Linked DNA regions of Homo sapiens: region 1 is linked to region 2. The links are contacts of gene promoters, found by promoter capture Hi-C in blood cells and fetal thymus (Javierre and others, 2016). All regions are on one chromosome and are shown on one strand. Each heading gives the region's core, a stretch centred on a gene start or on the middle of the fragment in contact. The rest is flanking DNA. Distances are from core to core; before and after follow the strand shown.

Region 1 (5,194 bases), core at 2,682-5,181, 3.0 Mb before region 2:
AACAGCATTTAACACACAGCTGCTTTGAAAATAAGATACATACATAAGTACTTAGCAAATTCGCTGGCCCTCAGTATAGTGCTAAATACTGATTGTTATCTATTCCTATTCTTTCTTACCTCTTCTCTTCCTCTTCACCCAGGCTTAGGGTGCAGAGAAGAAAAGAAGTTTATATGGTACAGTCCACAGCAAAAGTTCTGTGACTTTCAAAGAAGCCCACTTTAGTCTCATACTAGCATCAGATAATTAAACAGTCTCCTAGCCACAGCAATTAGGCAAGAAAAAGAAATAAAAGACATCCAAATTGGAAAGGAGGAACTCAAATCATTACTGTTTGCAGACAACATGATCTTATACATGGAAAACCCTAAAGGCTCCCCCAAAAAAACTCCACCATTTAAAACTAGCAAGTAAATTCAGTGAAGTTGCAGGATACAAAATTGACATACAAAAAAACAGTAGCATTCTGTATGCTAATAGGGAACTATCTAAAAAGATCAAGAAAACAATTCCATTTACAATAGCTACAAAAAAAGATACCTAGGAATAAACTTAACCAAGAAGGTGAAAGATCTGTACAATAAAAAAAATTAAGGAAATAAAGATGACACAAATAAGTGAAAAGATATCCCATGTTCATGAACTGAAATAATATTGTTGAAGTAGACATACTATCCAGAACGATCTACAGATTCCATGCAATCCCTATGAAAATACCAATGACATTCCTCACAGAAATATTTTTTAAAATCCTGAAGTTTGTGTGGAACCACGAAAGTCCTCAAACAGCAAGAGCAGTCCTGAGCAAAAAGAGCAAAGCTGGAGATATCACAAAGCCTGACTTAAAAATATGCTACAAAGCTATAGTACCCAAAACAGCATGGTACTGGCAGAAAAACAGACACATAGACCAATAATGTAACAGAATAGAGAGACCAAAAATAAATGCATGCACCTATAGCCAACTGATTGGTATTGAGGGAGGGATTGAGGGAGGAGGATGGGGAGAGGTTGGTCAACAGGTACAAAGTTAGATAGGAGGAATAAGTTCTGATGTTGTATTGCACACAAGGTGACTATGGTTAACAGTAAGGTATTGTTTATATATCACGAAACAGCTAGAAGAGTTTTTTTTAATGTTATCACCAAAAATGCATGAGGTGATGAATATGCTAATTACCTTGATTTGTTCATTATACAACATATACATGTATCAGAACATGAAATTGTACCCTATAAATATGTATAATTACAATGTGTCAACTAAAAATGAAAAAATAATTGAACTATCACCTTATTCACCTTCACCACACATTGGTCATATTTCTGACCAATCTAGATTGTTATGGTCATAGGTGATGATGCCTGTGTGACCCTGCAAAATTAACACTAGATATTCTCATGAAAAACAAAGCGTTTGCTTCATATGACCTTATTCTATTTGCAGAAGTAATATTCTCTTCTACTCCCACTTAGGAAATATCAAGTACTGGAAAAGGCAAAATATCTCTTCTTTACAAAAGTTAACCAAGAAGAGAATTGCATGCTACTGCATGGAACAGATCCTTCCTCCCTTCTGAGACCGACAAGAAAATCGCATAAAGGAGTACTAGTTAAGGTGTGGTCCATAGACGAGAGACTATCTGTGAACTGTTTGTGATCAGTAAATAAGAGAAATTGATGGGTGAAGCATGTGGGTGGGCTCCTGTAATCACAGCTAGGAGAGAGGATTGCTTGCGTTAGAGTCCATCCTGGTCAATAACGAGATACTCTCTCTAAAAACAAAACAAAACGAAACGAAAACTCAGCAGGCCACCAACTAGGATACTCCCTAGGTCAAATGACCGAGCCTCTAATTCTGTGATTGTTGTTGCTGTGCGCACGTTAATAAAACAAACAAACAAACAAAAAGTGAAGATGTTTAGAAAGTTTACAGTACTTTGGCATTGTCCTGATAATCCAAGCTCCTGATCAGCAGATTCTATTCAGCCAGGTATAGGGCAGTTCGAGTGTTGTCAAATTTGTGATTCCCATGAGGCCAGGCTGCTTACTGGTAATGCATAAAGGACCACATCCTGGTTCGCGAAGAGTTTGGGGGTAGAGGAAAAGGAGGGAGAAACTGATCCTTCATCACAGGTAGTTTGAGAGCACTGATGTAAACTATAGTCACACTTTTGTAGTATAATTGATTATTATCCTCAATAGATCATTTACACTAAGTCGGAAAAAAGTGGAAACATCAGATATGTGGGATATGCGTCACCTTGTACATTTCTCAGCTGGAAAAGTGTAAAACATCTCAATTTTGCACCTCCCTTTTCAAACATGTCTTTGGCTAAATCAATGTTGGCTCTAACCGCTCGTCCTAGAGCGAGTCCCGCCATCTTGTGGTTGAAGATGTTGACTGCCACAGAGAATAGCGGGCTTTGACATCAACAGTTCTGATTGGGTAAAAAGACCCTCGTCTTGGGGTAGTTCTCTTTTGAAGTCCTAGAGTCCGTCACACACAAACGCCTTCTTCCCGGTAAGTCCATTGTAAACAACGGAATGGACTTTAGGGAAAGGAAAGGAAAACGTGTTCTTTAAGACTCTTTAAATAGCGTTTTCACCCATTAGCAGAATTCTCTGATTCATGAGCAGCACTAAGTAGATACCGTGTGCGTGCATTTTGAATGAATTCATTTCTACACTATTTTATAGGAGTATTGAATAGTTGGGAATTGGAACCCCTCCAGGGGGAACCAAACATTGTCGTTCAGAAGAAGACAAAGAGAGATTGAAATGAAGCTGTTGATTTCAACACACAAATTCTGGTGGTAGATGAAAGCAAAGCAAGTAAGTTTCTCCGAATCCCTAGTCAACTGGAGGTAGAGACGGACTGCGCAGGTTAACTACAGCTCCCAGCATGCCTGAGGGGCGGGCTCAGCGGCTGCGCAGACTGGCGCGCGCGGACGGTCATGGGACTTCAGCATGGCGGTGTTTGCAGATTTGGACCTGCGAGCGGGTTCTGACCTGAAGGCTCTGCGCGGACTTGTGGAGACAGCCGCTCACCGTGAGTTGCCCCGGCTTCGCGCCTGGCCAACCTCATGCCACCCAGACCATCGGGCCACACTCCGGAGTAACTATTTCCTGATGGGTCTCGGTCAGGTCTCCCAGAGTCTCTGGGATGTCCCTGGAGGCTGATGCCCGCCGAGGTGTTGGTCTGATTCCTAGCGCGGGAAACTCGAAGGTTCTGGGGGTTGTTATCTGGTTCAGCTACTTTCCTGCAATGAGGGAACTGAGGCCTAACGAGGGCGAGGGATTTGCATAGGGGCCTACAGCTGATAGGTGACAGAAGCCGGAGCTGGACTCCAAGGGTACAATCTTCTAAGCTTCTAAGTTACTATCAGCCCTTCCTGATTCTCACGACAGTGTCTAAACAAATACTGGAATTTGGGGCACGGACAGGAAGCGCCGTGGAGGCTCGGAGAAGGAGGAGGACGTGGGAGTGTTGGAACAATACTATCTAGACAGAGAGAGGGTAGGTGGGGGCAGAGGACATACACAGCGGAGTGGAGGTGGAGGAGGAGGATAGCATGGCCCAAATCGAAGGGAAGCGAAAGCCTTGAGAGACGAGAACCTGTTTTAACTATTGGAGTTAGTCATGGGTTCTGTATTCCGTAGACTGTAAAGTGTTGGAATAGAGAGATTAAAAAGAATCAAGAGGTTCGTGTAGTAACATCTGCTCCTCAGAGACAGTTTTCAGCTCATTGTGAGTTCTGATTACTGATACTGTTCAGAGGTGGTGCTAGAAATGACAACCACTTCTTGGCAAAGTGAATCACACCACTTTTTTATTGTTCTCTTTATGAAGTATCCGTGGCGAAATGACTGTCCCTTTCCACTGCTGCCACTAAATGAACGTTATCTCTGTGGTACTTTGCTCATCAGCACGAAGACGAAAGTAGACATGATGATCTGGGCCATTTGGCGCTAATGTTCTTTGATCCTGTAAAATAAGTTTTCCTAGGTGTAGTTTGTCGCAATTATTACCTCCTCAATGAGGCTTTTCCTGACGCCATCCCATTTTTGAATAAATCATGAGCTTCCTAAGAGAATTGCCATGTCTTATCCTTTTATTTACTGTGCTTAACACGTTCACTCTGCAGGCACCAGTACATGGCAGTTACTCAGTTAATGCTTGTGGAATAAACTGAACACATTAAAAAAATTAATACAAAAAAGAAAAGTTAATAATGATTTCTTTAGAGAATTTCCCCCAGTTTAAAATACACTTGGAAGAGGTGTGGTAATATATGTACATTGTTAGTGGTTATTTGTTTGTAAATTAAATGGAATTCATGGCATATAAAGTTGCCTCAACTTACAAGTCAAAGACAAAGGACTGCTCTGCTATTTGATGAGTCTGGAACTAAATAGTGGACATTTGCAAAGAATAGGAAAGACAGAGCCCTGGTTCTCAGTTTCTGATGTGATACAAGAAACCAATAATAAGCTTCAGAAATATACTGTGTAAATTAAAATACCCTAAAGCCTGATTGGGGAAGTAAGTACTCCTAAGCTGCCAGATGAGGAGTAGTCTAGGAAAAAGTTTTGTGGAGAAACAGATCCTAGTTGACATTTCTGTAGAACGGTAGGGACATTGTTTAGTAGCCAAAAGGATATCCTAAATGGGTATAACAAGGAAGTTTAGAGCAGATTTGGGAGTGTGGTAAAGAAGAATAGGGAGGAGGTGTGGCTGGTTGATTTGACTAACTGGGTGCAAGGTGAAGCCCAAGGTACAGGCATACTTGTGATTTTTTTTTTGTTTTTAAGGGTAACTTTCTTCAGGGAGCCTTTTGTGACCCCTACACCAGGTTTCACTGTGCTATGTACTTCCATAGAATCCTTACTTATAAAAAACATGTATTTATATACAATGACTTGCTTAATTGCCTTATTTGCCTTCGTTCTCCAACAGACTAGGCTGTAAATTTCTTGTGGAGAAGGATTATATTATTTATCCTGTATGCTCAACACCAGTTTAGGGCTTGTCAAGTAATGGATGCTCAGTAAATATTTGAGGGAGGAAGGGAAGAAGGAAGTTGGACAAACTGTTGAGAGTTTGGCATTGATATGTATTTTAATGTTAATATCCTTTCATCCCCATTGGTATTTTTAAAAATTAAAGATGGGAGTCATGATTTAGATTTTT
Region 2 (5,049 bases), core at 1,363-3,862:
ACGAGTTCTGCACATTCCATCTCCTAGCCACCTCAAAATCCATCTTTCCTCCTTGCCTTCTCTACCTGGGGTCAGAATCTCATCTGGGTCACTTCAATAGGCTCTGAACTAGTCTCCTCTACAGTCGGGATTTCTGGCCCATCCTGCACATTATGGAGATCTATCTGTCACCAGCTCAATATCACTATCATCACCAAAGACCTGAAATAACAATGTTCAGGAGAGACCTTAACAGCCCCACACCTCTACTGGGTGGAGCTTCAGGACAGCCATGTCTTCTGACTTCTAGTCTGGTCCGCACTTTTTTTTTTTTTTTTTTTTTTTTTTTGAGACAGTCTCGCTCATGTTGCCCAGGATATAGTGCAGCAGCGTGATCTCGGCTCACCGCAACCTCCGCCTCCTGGGTTCAAGTGATTCTCCTGCCTCAGCCTCCTGAGCAGCTGGGATTATAGGCACCCGCCATTACACCTGGCTAATTTTTGTATTTTTAGTAGAGACGGGGTCTCACCATGTTGGCCAGGCTGGTCTCGAACTCCTGACCTCAAGTGATCTGCCCTCCTCGGCCTCCCAAAGTGCTGGGATTACAGGCCAGCTTGGTCCGCACTTTTCTCATTGGTTGCCTTTTATGTCAGCATGGCTGTCAGCTAAATGGGAGAATGAATATAACTGATACCATTTATATATGAAGGTCAGCAGTGGAGGGGAAGGAAGTTAAAGGGAATAAACAGCAGGTATGAAATCATCTCACCACCTTTAATAACTGGTGTAGTACCCATTTTCTTCTCTTCTTCTTCTCCCTTTTCGAGGATGGTGTTGAAAGTGTTGAAAGTGGAGCAGTCAGGGTACTTCCTTCTCAAATCATCACACTTCTTTCTTCTTTACCACACTTCCTAGCCATAATCTTCACCATTTAAGAGGAGGGGACTCTTCAAACCCTTTCCATATCGAAATCTTAGAATGCAATTGTGAAACTGCACTTGACTTCCCAGATATTTGAGGAAGCTTCCTGGTTCTTGCTTTATAATCATGATCTACCACCCTTACCATCCTTCCCTGAAATTTCCCTATCTAAAACAACGACAACAAAACCTGTTACAGATATTTTTGTAAGTAGCCTTAAATTCTTTTAAAAGTATTATTATTTTTTTTATAGAGACAAGGTCTATGTTGCCCAGGCTGGTCTCAAACTCCTAAGCTCAAGCAATCCTCCCACCTCAGCCTCCCGAAGTGCTAGGATGGTAGGCTGAGCCACCGTGCCCAGCCTTAAATTCTCTTTTAAGACAAGGCAAAAGTATGTGTTAATCAAGTTAGAATTCAGGTGACCATTTGTCTCAGTTTGCCTAGGACAGTCCCAGTTTATGCCTATTCCCTTGTGTAACTTTTAAAAGAGCTCCTCCTTTTACTCTTAAAAAAAAAAAGGTCCAGTTTGGAGGATAAATTATATGCTGACCCTAGTTTAAAACACACTTTGATTTTCTAACATAGTGTTTTCCAGGTGATATTATGCTTTTGCCCACATCATTGCATTTTATTTACATAACTACTCTGCGAAGCAGGAAGGGAAATACTTGATCGCTATTAAATAAAGGAGGTAATCAAGGCTTCGAGGGGTACAGTGGTGACTGAGGTCACACACTCAGGGCCAGAACCTAGGATTCCTGACTTCAAGTCTAAAACTGTTTCAGCTGTGGATCACTATGTGCAAATGTCTGAGTAAAGGCAAACTTCACTCTCCTTTGGTGATCTGCTTGGCACTGGACTTAGAAGTTTAGATACGTTCATCCTTGCACAGAGACTGTTCTTCCACATATAAAGCAAGCAAAGAGATGGAAGAAGAATTATTAGCTAAACAAAAAGAGGCTGTTAGTGAATCCTGGGCCAAAGAATATATTTTACCAGGTCTAATTACATCAGATTACTTGAATCTTACATCTGGCCAAATTAGGATATTTCCATTTAAGAAAAGAAAACCAAAGATCAATAATGCATGCCTACTCTTGCAAAGAATGCAAAGAACATATAAATGGGTTCTGGTCAGTCTTATAGATATATTTTCCTATAATTACACACTAATTCTTTCTTAAAAATATTTCCCAAAACAGCAAAATTCTACCCTCCTTGGTAAGCAGCAAAGGGACAACACGGGAAACAAAACAAAACAAAACAAAACAAAACAAAACATAAAAACCCTAGACCATTTAAAGACAAGCATGGTGCTTTGTAAAATCTTCGGGGTATCACAGAGGTGCTGAATGCGTGGTTACATCAATGAAAAAACGCCCACTCTTTGAGCCTCCTGAAAAGGAGGCCACAGGACCCCCGGGCGCCAGGGCTTGGGAACCCAGCGCCCCTCCTTGTCTGTGCCATGACAGACAGGTTCAGTGTGACTTGCCAAGGATGGCTCCAAGCAGCTGGGCCATGTAGCCTGAACGCAGCAGAGGGTTGGACGCCTTAGAGCCAGCTGTGGGCACCACAGCCCGACCAGGGAGGCAGCGGGTCTCCCCAGGTTAAGAGGCCAGCGGAGGACGCGCGCGGTCTCCTTGGGGGAGGGTGCGGGTGGGCCGGGCGCGCATGCGCATGGGCGCCATCGCCCGCCGGAAGAGCGGCAGCCCAGGCGCTGCTGCTGGCGCCAGACGGCACCGGCCGCTGGTAGAGCGCGTGCCGCGAGATGCGGCCTCAGGACAGCACCGGGGTCGCGGAGCTCCAGGAGCCCGGGCTGCCGCTAACGGACGATGCACCCCCGGGCGCCACTGAGGAGCCGGCGGCCGCCGAGGCAGCTGGGGCGCCAGACCGCGGTAGGTGCTGGCTCTGCCTTTCCTCGCCGTGTTGCTCCCGCACCGAGCCGGGTGAGTGCGCGGTGTGGATCGGGCTCTGGTCTCGCTCGGGGGTCCCGAGCGGGCGCCGGCGGGTTGGGGTCCCCGCAACCCGGGCACAGTGCCCGCCGCGCCTCCGTCCCCACCCTGCCCGGGGCTCGGGAAACCCCTCGAGCTGTCAGCTGGGGGGCTGCAAAGCGGAATTCCCGGCGCCCCAGCCGGCGCTAAGACGGAAGAAACTTTCCGATTGTTAGCAGTCCTTTTGGGATTCCGAGGCTGCTCCTGTAATTAGTGTCGGGGCAGGGCTGTGGAGTCAGACTGCAGTTTGGCGTACCCTCCCCTAGGTCGTAGGTGGGGGGTCAGCGAGAGAGGCCATCCTGCAGTGGGGCGACGTTGCGAGGAAGCTGACCCTGAAAAGTGATCCCGGTGGTTAAGGGTTCTCTCCGAAAAGGAAGCTGAAAAGCATCGAGTCTAGAAAAAATGTTCGTCCTAGAGTTTTAGAATCTTGGAAAGGCAGAGATAAGTGGGACCGCTAGTTTTTAACCTTTAGGGATACAAGGACTTTTTAGCAAACGATGCAGAACAAGGCATATCTTGTTAAGAAGCTCACAGCCCCGTCCCCAAAGTCAGGGACCCCTCGTGAAGAACACTTTATGTTCAGTCCCCCTCCTTCGACACATGAGCAAAGTGAGGCCCAGGAAGGTGAGGGCTTTTGGGTTTTCGTTTGCTTTGTCTCCTCCAAGATGTGGAACGTGGGGGTGAGATGGGGCGCATGTCCAGGGAGCACCAGGGTTAGGATCCCAGCTTGCCATATACCGGCCTAGGGCCCTTTCCACTGGCCACAAGTGCTGCTTCAAGCACATTCCTCTTAGAAGTCGACCATCTACCAGGAGCAGCTTCCTGCAAGAAGAAGGGAATAGGCAGATCTCTTTTTAGGACAGTTACACGGCCTGCACCACCTTGTCCTCTGGGTCACCTCCCCTAAGTGTGACCCTGGATTTCTGTTCCTCTCCTCTCACTGCGCTTTCCCCTCCTCCCTTTGTGCACTTTCCCCAAGTTAGAGAGACAGACTCTAGGAAGACTATTCTTGCTCCATTTCTGTCCTAAAGGCAAACCGAAATGATCAGACTTGTGATCATTTATAAATGGGCTGGTGCCTCTAGAACAGGGGTTATGCCAGGCTGAATTGAACAGATAAGCAGCCTTTGAAAAGGTCAGTTTCTCACCTATCACCCTCTGGGTGAATGTCCTTCTGGTGGCATGCCGAATCAGTCCATGCAAACTCTTAAAGTTTCCCCTTTTTGTGAATGGAAGAGGAATTCTCTACTCCCAGGCAGCTCATGGCAAGATGAGAAACTTACGTGAGTGTATCTAAGAATCTTGTGGGTGTTTAACTTCAAAGAAAGTTTCTACCAGTAAGACTTAGTTATTGTAAGGTGACAAGATAATATTTTGGAAAGAAAATTGACATAAAAACACTTTACTGTTGTCATTGAACTTTGTGACACCTCTTGTTCTAACTGCTTATCTCAACAAAGCTTTTTTCAAGTTCTGGTTGGAACTGTTACCCATATGTCTTACATTCTTGGATGACCTTAACAGACACATACAGCTGTCCCAAGACATCTCCTTACTTTCTTCAGGGACAGTGTGGGTCTTACACTGAAGCAAGGAGAAGTAGTTTCTTAGGCCTGTGCCTCACATCCTCTGGAGGGAGTTAGTGATCGAGTGTAGCAGTGGTTCTCAAACTAGTGGAGCCTTTTAGAGTTACAGAGATTCTATTTCGGTGGGTCTGAGATGGGGCTTGAGAATTAATTTTTTTTTTTTTTGGAGATAGGGTCTTACTCTGTCACCAAGGCTGTGGTGCATTGGCGTGATCACAGCTCACGGCGACCTCAACCTCCTGGGCTTACTCGATCCTTTCATCTAAGTCTCCTGAGTAGCTGGGACCACAGGCACACACCACCACACCCGACTAATTTAAAAATATTTTTTGCATTGATGAGGGGGTTTCCCCGTGTTGCCCAGGGTGGTCTCAAACTTTTGAGCTCAAGAGATCCTCCCACCTTGTCCTCCCAAGGTGCTGGGATTACAGGCATGAGCCACTGCACCCAGGAATTAAAGTTTTAAGTGTTACTCAGGTGATTCTAATTCCCAACCAGGATTGCGAATCACCAGCTGAAAGCAGAGGATAGAGAAGCTGAGTAATTTTTCAGTTTTCTTCTAAGTGAGGAAA

Evidence for each region. The method cuts DNA at HindIII sites, captures the fragments that hold promoters and counts their contacts. A CHiCAGO score of 5 or more calls a contact.
Region 1: a contact is called between a fragment that was not itself captured here and the fragment with the promoter of SLC35G1 in region 2, in 1 of 17 cell types (non-activated CD4 T cells). The highest score is 5.1, in non-activated CD4 T cells.

The regions. Positions count from the first base shown.
Region 1 is chr10:90,869,017-90,874,210 of GRCh38, forward strand. It overlaps RPP30 (ribonuclease P/MRP subunit p30), which reads left to right and starts at 2,958. Exons shown (of 11, transcript NM_006413.5): 1 at 2,958-3,052. The coding sequence starts at 2,971. RefSeq lists enhancers at 2,796-3,090, 2,809-3,078, 3,209-3,268. The HindIII fragment of the contact is 1,124 bases long and covers 3,370-4,493 here.
Region 2 is chr10:93,891,366-93,896,414 of GRCh38, forward strand. SLC35G1 (solute carrier family 35 member G1) reads left to right here and starts at 2,613. Exons shown (of 3, transcript NM_001134658.3): 1 at 2,613-2,846. The coding sequence starts at 2,669. RefSeq lists silencers at 2,587-3,016, 4,502-4,551. The HindIII fragment of the contact is 3,349 bases long and covers 1,001-4,349 here.